Regions from separate parts of the Homo sapiens genome. Here region 1 is linked to region 2. The links are contacts of gene promoters, found by promoter capture Hi-C in blood cells and fetal thymus (Javierre and others, 2016). All regions are on one chromosome and are shown on one strand. The core of a region is centred on a gene start or on the middle of the fragment in contact, and the rest is flanking DNA. Distances in the headings are between cores, read along the strand shown. Region 1 holds the start of ATOSB (atos homolog B). Region 2 holds the start of ZCCHC7 (zinc finger CCHC-type containing 7).

Region 1 (3,744 bases), core at 267-2,766, 2.0 Mb before region 2:
CCTACCCCAGGGCTTTGTCTGTCCTCAGCAGACCCACCCCCCTCCCCAGCCAGTCTCTCAGCTCCTGGGTGGTTGTGTGAGGAGGCTGGCTTGGGGCCCCTTTTAGCAACACTGTCACACTCATTTAGCCACTGTGTGGAACTCAAGCCTTTCCCACCCTCTCCCAGCCAGCCCAGGGGCAAAAAGAACTCTAGCACTCCATCAAATCCCCTCAGGGAAGCAGAGGAGCCCTCAAGAGAACTAGGTCCTAGCCTGTTCTGATAGTGCTTCCAAGCCTGGAGTGTGGGGAGCCACTCCCTCTTCCTCCCCTAGCTGTGGCTGGAACCTCACAACCCTTACTGGGTTCAGCTTACAGTCGTGGCCCACCTCTCAAAACAGACAGAAGACCCTCAATACTCCTCACCACTTCCCCCCTCCCACAGAAGCCCTAGCGTTCCCTACCCAGAAGGATAAGGGTGGGGAAAATCTGTTTGTGGCAAGTGGTTAAATGTGGCTACCAGTCACTTGGGGATCTATGCGAGAGACCTGGGTGGTAGTGGTGGGGGTGGGGTCTGAGCCCTGCCGCTGGTTACCAGGGTCTCTGGTCATTGATAACAAAGTACCGGGCAGGGCACAGCTCCTAGATGGGCAAGGGCCAGGCCAGGCCCTGGGGCAAGGAAGGAAGTGGGAAATGAGCACACCCAGAGCATAAGGGCAGGGCGGGGGAGGGGGGAGACAGAGACCAAGGCCGGCTCTGGGAGGAACAGGAACTAGGATGGGGGGTTGACAGGAACCCAGCGGGGGAAGGGTCCCCCGGGACCTCAGCTTAGGGAAGAAACCCCAGTCTCAGCTGGACAGATCCAAAATAGACTGAGGAGACATTCACACAAGCCCTAGTGACAAGCAGGGTCTGACTCCTCTCTGAGTGCCCAGGCCAGAAGGCGGAGTTAAAAGCTGAGCAGACAGGAGTGCAATAGATTGGCCTCTTCACCCCACTAACCCCAACACCCTTGCTCTTAGAACCCAGAACACAAGTGTCTTCCTGTAGTTACTACAATGCCCTAAACTGTTACTTTGTCAAAGTACTGGGGGTTCTGTTCTCCTGCCTCAAGTTGGGCCTACAACCCCTTCCCCTAGATAGTGCCCGCAGACCCTCCGACACCGCTACACTCCTTCTCCATTAAACAGCCCCCCTTCCTTCAAAGCACCTCCATGTCCCCTGCCCCTCATGTACCTCCTCCAACCCCCCACATCAGACAGAGACAGCCCCCTCACAATGTACCTCGCAACCCCCCCACAACAAAGCGCTCCCGCCCTTCCCCCATAGAGGCCTCTGGAGAATGCACCTTGTTGCCCACACATTGAGTCCCCAACTGCTCCCGCGACTTCGTATCTTCCCTCAACACACAGCAGTCTCCAGATCGTCTGCAAAGCGCACCCCCATCCGCGTCCCTTCTTCCACGCTCACCCTGCCCCACACCTGTAGTTCCGTGGGTCCCGTTGCACTTGGGGACGTGGTAGTGGTTGGGGCAGTTACTGAGCAGCCCTAGCTGTAGCCTCCGCCTGCAAACCTCGCCCCTTCAGTCTGAGCCCCGCCCCCGCAACGCCCGGGCCCACCCTCTCCCTTGTCCCACCTTCCACCTTCTGTGGACTTGTCCCTTTCCTCGTTTAATTTCTCGAGCTCCTCCCCTGTAGCCCGGGCCCCGCCCCCTTCTGACCTCGCACCTCCTTCGCGTTTTCTTTGCATTTCCCCAGGATCCTCAGCTTTTCCCAGGCCCCACCCCCGATCCCCGCCTCCTCTCGGTCTCTCCGCCTTTCACCAGGACCCGCCCCCTCGGATTCCAGCCTGGCAGAAGTCGCGCCAAGACCCTTCCACCACGATCCCCCTCCCATCTCAGAGCCCCTCCTCCTTCCGCCCCTTCTCCCTCACGCCTCACCCGGGCGGTCGCACTCCAACCAGGATCCGCTGGCTCTGATTGGCGGTGGCGGCCCCAAAGGAGGAAGGAGGAGACAAAGTGATGGTCGCAGGTCGCCTGAGGTCCCACCCCGGCCACGTGCGGCTTCTGTGATGACAAGTCTAGAGGGGCGGGGCCTCGGCCGGCAGGCTGCTAGCCTGAGCGGAGCGGATCAGGGCAGAGGTGGGGAGATGGAGCCAGGGCCAAAGCCACCAGCCTGAGGGCTCTGAGCCGGGTTGGGGCTATCTCGCTGCTTTCGCACCGGTGTGAGCTGCCGCCGGAACTCTAACCTCTTTGTAGGGATGTCTGGGTGGGCGCGTGCATTTGCACTAATAGGGGAGGTCCGTAGGGATTGCAAGGTAGTGCAAGGAATCTCAGGGGTCTGTGAAAATGAGGGAATCTGGGCGGTGGGGTTCAGGTCTGCGAGGTTGAGCAGTTTCTGAAGCCTACGCTGTGCAGGCGGGTGTGGGTTCTGGGATGGGATGGACAGTAGGAGTCAGATCAGTACCTACTGAGGCAGGTCAGCGAGATCTGTGAATTTTACGAGATGAGTGTTGATATGGAGTTAGGAGGGCCTGCAATTGCTGGAGAAAAGTGAGGCCTTTCCCTTGTACAGGTGTCTAATGAACTGCATGACAGTTACATATGTTCTGCAGTTTAAGCGGCGCCCTCTCCAACCTCTCCCCAGGAGATACAATAAGGGAGGGCGACGCTTCCCAGACACCGGTAGATGGCAGCACAGGACACTTGCAGAACTGAGACAGCCCAGCTCAGCGCCGATCTGTGGCCTCTCCGAGGAGCGGACCGTTTGGGTCTGGATTTGATCAAGTTCTACAAAAGTCACATTCTTTTTTATTTTTTTTTGAGACGGCGTCTCGCTCTTTCGCCCAAACTGGAGTGCAGTGGTGCGATCTCGGCTCACTGCAACCTCCGCCTACTGGGTTCAAGCAATTCTCCTGCCTCAGCCTTCAGAGTAGCTGGGATTACAAGCGCGCGCCACCAGGCCGGGCTAATTTTCGTATTTTTGGTAGAGACAGGTTTCACCATGTTGGCCAGGCTGGTCTCAAATTCCTGACCTCAAGCGATCCGCCCGCCTCGGCTGCCCAAAGTGTTGGGATTACTGGCGTGAGCCACAGCACCCGGCCAAATCTCAGATTCTTTAGGCTCTGTGACTTTGTCAGTAGTTAACTTAAACTGGTTTACTCAACGTCAGTGGTGTGGAAGCGCAAAAAAAAGAAAGAAAAAAGTATTTTCTCTGGCCATAAGGAACTTATTATTTAGACAGTGATACAAATGCCTACATAATCCCAGAAGGGTAAACTAAGAAAGGTTTTGGGTAGTGGGAAAACCACAGAGTTTGAAGTCATCTAAACTTCTTCAACTTCAACTTCAAACTTCAACTTATGGGTTCAACTTATGAGTTTGTCTCATACCTTTGAGTATTTACTAGCTGTATAGATTTAGGTAAATTATTTGACTTTAAAAAATTAATTTTAGAACAATTTTAGATTTACAGAAAACTTGTAAAAATAGTGCAGAGAGTTTTCATATATACCCTACACCTAGTTTCTCCTATTATTAACATCTTTCCTTATATGGTTCATTTATTACAATTAATAAGCCAATATTGATACATTAACAATAACTAAAACCCACACTTTATTCTGATTTTCTTTTTGTTTTTTTGAGACGGAGTTGTCGCTCTTTCACCCAGGCTGGAGTGCAGTGGCAAGATCTCGGCTCACTGTAACCTCCACCTTCTGGTTTCAAGAGATTCTCCTGCCTCAGCCTCCCGAGTAGCTGGGATTAC
Region 2 (4,164 bases), core at 1,066-3,565:
AGCGATCCACCTGCCTCAACCTCCCAAAGTGCTGGGATTACAGCCATGAGGCACCTTGCTTGAGCTTTAAACATTTTTGTTCAGACGGTCTCATTCTGGAGTGCAATGGTGCGATCTCGGCTCACTGCAGCCTAGACCTCCGCAGTTCAAACCTCAGCCAGGAACAGCTGGGACTCCAGGTGTGGGCCACCACGCCCTGTTATTATTATTATTTTTTTGACACGGAGTTTCTCTCTTGCTGCCCAGGGTGGAGTGCAATGGCGCAATCTCGGCTCACTGCAACCTCCGCCTGCCGGGTTAAAGCGATTCTCCTGCCTTAACCTCAGGAGTGGCTAGGATTACAGGCATGCGCCATCACGCCCGGCTAATTTTGTATTTTTACTAGAGACGGGGTTTCGCCATGTTGGTCAGGCTGGTCTCCAACTCCTGACCTCAGGTGATCCGCCCGCCTCGGCCTCCCAAAGTGCTGGGATTACAGGCGTGAGCCACTGCGCCCAGTCGCCCAGTTAATTTTTAAATTTTTAAATTTTTTTGTAGAGACAGCGTCTTGCTATATTACCCCGGCTGGTTTCGAATTCTCGGCCTTAAGCTATCCTCCCACTTCGGGCTCCCAAACAGGTGAGAGCTACCCCATTAGCCAGGCAGGCATTCAAACTTTATCAGGCCCAGAGGGACTTGAGTATGGTACTTCAGTTAGCACCATCCCATGTAGGTGGTGGTGGGGGTGGGGGTGGGGGGTAGGGGTGTGTGGCAATTGTTTAAAGGCATTTTGTTCTTTTCTTCCCAGTACCTGCATCACCCTTTATCTTCGTGTTCCTAAAATTTGTGATAGAAAGAACAATGTGTAGCCAATGGATAGCTTATGTTATTTTAGTGTCAATTCTTGGTATGTAGTTTAGCAAAAGCCTCTTCTTTTTTCCTTTAAAAATTCACTCGTGGCCGGGCGCGGTGGCTCACGCCTCTAATCCCAGCACTTTGGCAGGTCGAGGCCAGGAGTTCGAGACCAGCCTGGCCAACATGGTGAAACCCCGACTCTACTAAAAATACAAAAATTAGCTGGGCGTGGTGGCAGGCGCCTGTAATCCCAGCTACTTCGGAGGCTGAGGCAGGAGGATGGCTTGAATCTGGGAGGCGGAGGTTGCAGTGAGCCGAGACCGCGCCATTGCACTCCAGCCTGGGCAACAACTGCGAAACTCCGTCTCAGGAAAAAAAAAAAAAAAAAAAAAAAAAAAACCATAAAGAAAGAAAAAAATTCACTCGTAGCTGCTACAAGAAGTGTAATGGCTCATGCCTGTGATCCCAGTGCTTTGGGAGACAGAGGTGGGAGGATCGATACCTTTAAGCCTGGAGCTTCACAAGACAAAGAACTCAGTTGAAACTGCTGCTTATCGGATCACATATTAAGGGCAACTTGAATTGATGATCCCAGGTTGCCCTCATCAAACTTGGCCCAAATAAATTCTCCACTTATATTAACTTTGCCTCAGTTTTTCCTTTAGGTCGACAGTTATTTCTAAAGTTCTACAGATGGGTTTACCTTGTATTAAAATAAGGTGTGAGAAGGGCAAATGAAGCCAGAGGCTCCCAGCACAATCTTGCAACCTTCAGAGACTTCCAAAGGATCAGCATTAACTCCAATATTTAGCAGGAGTGCAGCTCTTCGAGATTCACAAAGTGTTAATCTGTTGCCTAGAATTCCAGAGAGTTGGAGGCGCCCAGTGTGAACTGTGTTCCGCCTAAAAGAAAAAGCGACCAGCCTAAGATCATGAGCGCAAGGGAGAAGCTTGAAGCCATGCGCTCTCAAGTACGCGTTTCCCGCTGCCCAGGTCTGCGGGCCAAGCAGCCAGCCACGCTGGCCCTCGTCATGCACGCGATCAGCTAGGCTCCCGCGCCACGTGGCACTGAGAAGGCGTCCACCGAGCGCCAGGGAGAAGGAGGCGGAGCCCGGCCTCAACCTCGCCCGTGTCCTCATGGGGGTTGTAGTTTTCCTCGCGGGGGTAGAGGGCACGAACTCCCCGGCTTTTGCCCGGTAAATAGCATCTCCTTCGTACGAGTCATTCAAATAATAGATGCAGCCTAGGTAGCTTCAAGAGAAGTTGGGAAGGGGAAGGGGGAAAGCAAGGAAGGCAAACCTAATAATTATGGGCGGGGCAGAGAACGGTTCGCACCCACTACGCATGCGCACATCAGGCGCGGCAGGTGGGCGGGGACGGAAAGGCGGTGACTAGAGCTGTGTTGTCCCCGGAAGTGCCTTCCCTCCCGGGTCTGCGCGGACGCGGCCTCCTTACCTCATTTGTCCTCGCCCCTCCCCGTCCCTCTACGCGTTTTGGTTCCCGGTTGGTGCTTCCTGTTCGCAGCTGCGGCAGTGAGTATGTGTGTGACGGACCCCCGCCGCCCGCGGCTCGGGACCCCTGCCTACCCTCCTTCTTGCCCGCCGGGCTGTGGAACTAGCGCGTGCCCCCTCGCCGGCCTCGACGTCTCCCGTCCGCCCCTCACTCGTGGCAGGGCGCAGCTCCTGGTCCGTCACCTGCGCGCCGCCCCACGCGGCCGGGCTGCGGGTCTAGGGGGTCCGCGTCTCCCTGGCTTTCCAAGGGCTAATGCCGTGATTCTAGAGCGGCTGGGCGTCTAGGGCCTCGGTGAGGGTGGCGTGTCTGCCCTTTTTATTTCCCCGCAAGGCCCCCAGTCTTCTAGGGAAGCCAGTCAGTGAAGCGCGGAGGTCCCGGCGCGCCGAGAGAGAGTCCAGTCTTTGAGGACCGAGTAGTCCTGGGCCACCTCCCGCCTCTGCTGTCAGAAGCAGCAGCTGCAGCAGTAGAATCCAAAATTTCGGGAGCTGTGACCCTTTCCTCATGTAAAACGAGTAGACTTGGACTGTGTTTACTAAGGCGCCCTTTATCCCTCCCATCCTGTGAGCGGACAGTTGCCTTCAACTTTTGGGAAGAGCTGCTGGTTCGGTGGAAAAGCTGTGGCTGGGAATCAGGAGGCCTGGGTTCTAGCCGTGGCTCCCCCACGGATTCGCTGGCGATTCCAGAAAGCTCTTATTGAAGCTGAATTTAAGATTATTTCAGATTGCACAGTTGAATTACGGGCTGCATTAGTAGGGCCTTTTTAGCTCAGTGAATAAGTTTCTCTGAGCTCCTTTCTCCAACTATAAAACGAGAGCGTTCAATTTGATGACTTTTCAGGTCCCCTCAGAAGCTCTTGACTTTGTGGTTTTCTTTTTCTTTTTAAAATTTTTTCTAGGACCGTTAGAGAAATGACTTCGTGTTTGAATAGTTAGGCTGTCGCATACAAAGACTTTTAAATGGATTGTGTGTATACTTAGGAAAGCGTTATGCTTTCAGGAGAATCTGAGCATGGGGAATAAAGTCAGGAAGGATCGCAAGTGAGGATTATATTAATATGATAATTAGCACGGTAAGAGACTGCATGACCGAAGGAAAAGGGCTAAGGGAAAGGTGAAGGAAATGTTTCCGGATAGGATTAGTTCTCGTAAAAATCATATATATATCCCAAGAAGAGCTGGGACTTAAGTGACTAAATTTAGCTTATTTTTTTTCCCCCACTGAAATACTGTGCTCTGTTTGTCTTTTGTGACTTTTGTTTTACACATTTGGATTCTCCATCCCAATCAGATTTGATTCAGAGTGGCCATCGCATTTGAAAAATGGACAGACATTTTAACCCTTTAGACAATTGTGTTTCAACTGTCCTGTCAGGGCAGCTTACTAAGAGTAAGAAAAATTTTACTTTGAAAGTAAAGTGTATTCATCACATTCCAATGAAAATTGGACTGAAAATGAGGCTGTGGATTTGATTTAAATCGGCCGGAGATGGATGCGTGTGTCATCAAGAAGGAACATCTAGGGAGGCTAAAGATATTTGGAAGTAAATAAGAGCAAAAGGTCAGAATGACCAGTAGGTAGACTGTGAGAGCAGAAGGATTGATTAAAGACTGTGTTAAGTAAATGCTGAAAGCTTAAATAAGCCTTAAGTTGTCTAGTTTAAAACAATTCAGTCAATGAATACTGCTCCCTCTTTTGAATGGTAATAGCCTTTGCAGTTATTCTATAGCTGTTTTATATTTGTTAAGGTATTTTAATTCTTAGATAAGTTTCATTTGCATGATATTTTAAGATGTTATATAGGAAACATCTTTTCTGGTCA

What was found. The method cuts DNA at HindIII sites, captures the fragments that hold promoters and counts their contacts. A CHiCAGO score of 5 or more calls a contact.
Region 1: the fragment with the promoter of ATOSB here is called in contact with the fragment with the promoter of ZCCHC7 in region 2 in 1 of 17 cell types (monocytes); the score reaches 5.2 in monocytes.

What each region holds. Positions count from the first base shown.
Region 1 is chr9:35,114,346-35,118,089 of GRCh38, forward strand. ATOSB (atos homolog B) reads right to left here and starts at 1,517. Exons shown (of 9, transcript NM_025182.4): 1 at 1,460-1,517. RefSeq lists an enhancer at 1-328 and a silencer at 1,662-1,721. The HindIII fragment of the contact is 12,182 bases long and covers 1-3,744 here.
Region 2 is chr9:37,118,259-37,122,422 of GRCh38, forward strand. ZCCHC7 (zinc finger CCHC-type containing 7) reads left to right here and starts at 2,316. Exons shown (of 9, transcript NM_032226.3): 1 at 2,316-2,365. It overlaps LOC105376034 (a long non-coding RNA gene), which reads right to left and starts at 2,142. Exons shown (of 3, transcript NR_188580.1): 1 at 1,538-2,142. RefSeq lists an enhancer at 1,978-2,057. The HindIII fragment of the contact is 2,192 bases long and covers 1,782-3,973 here.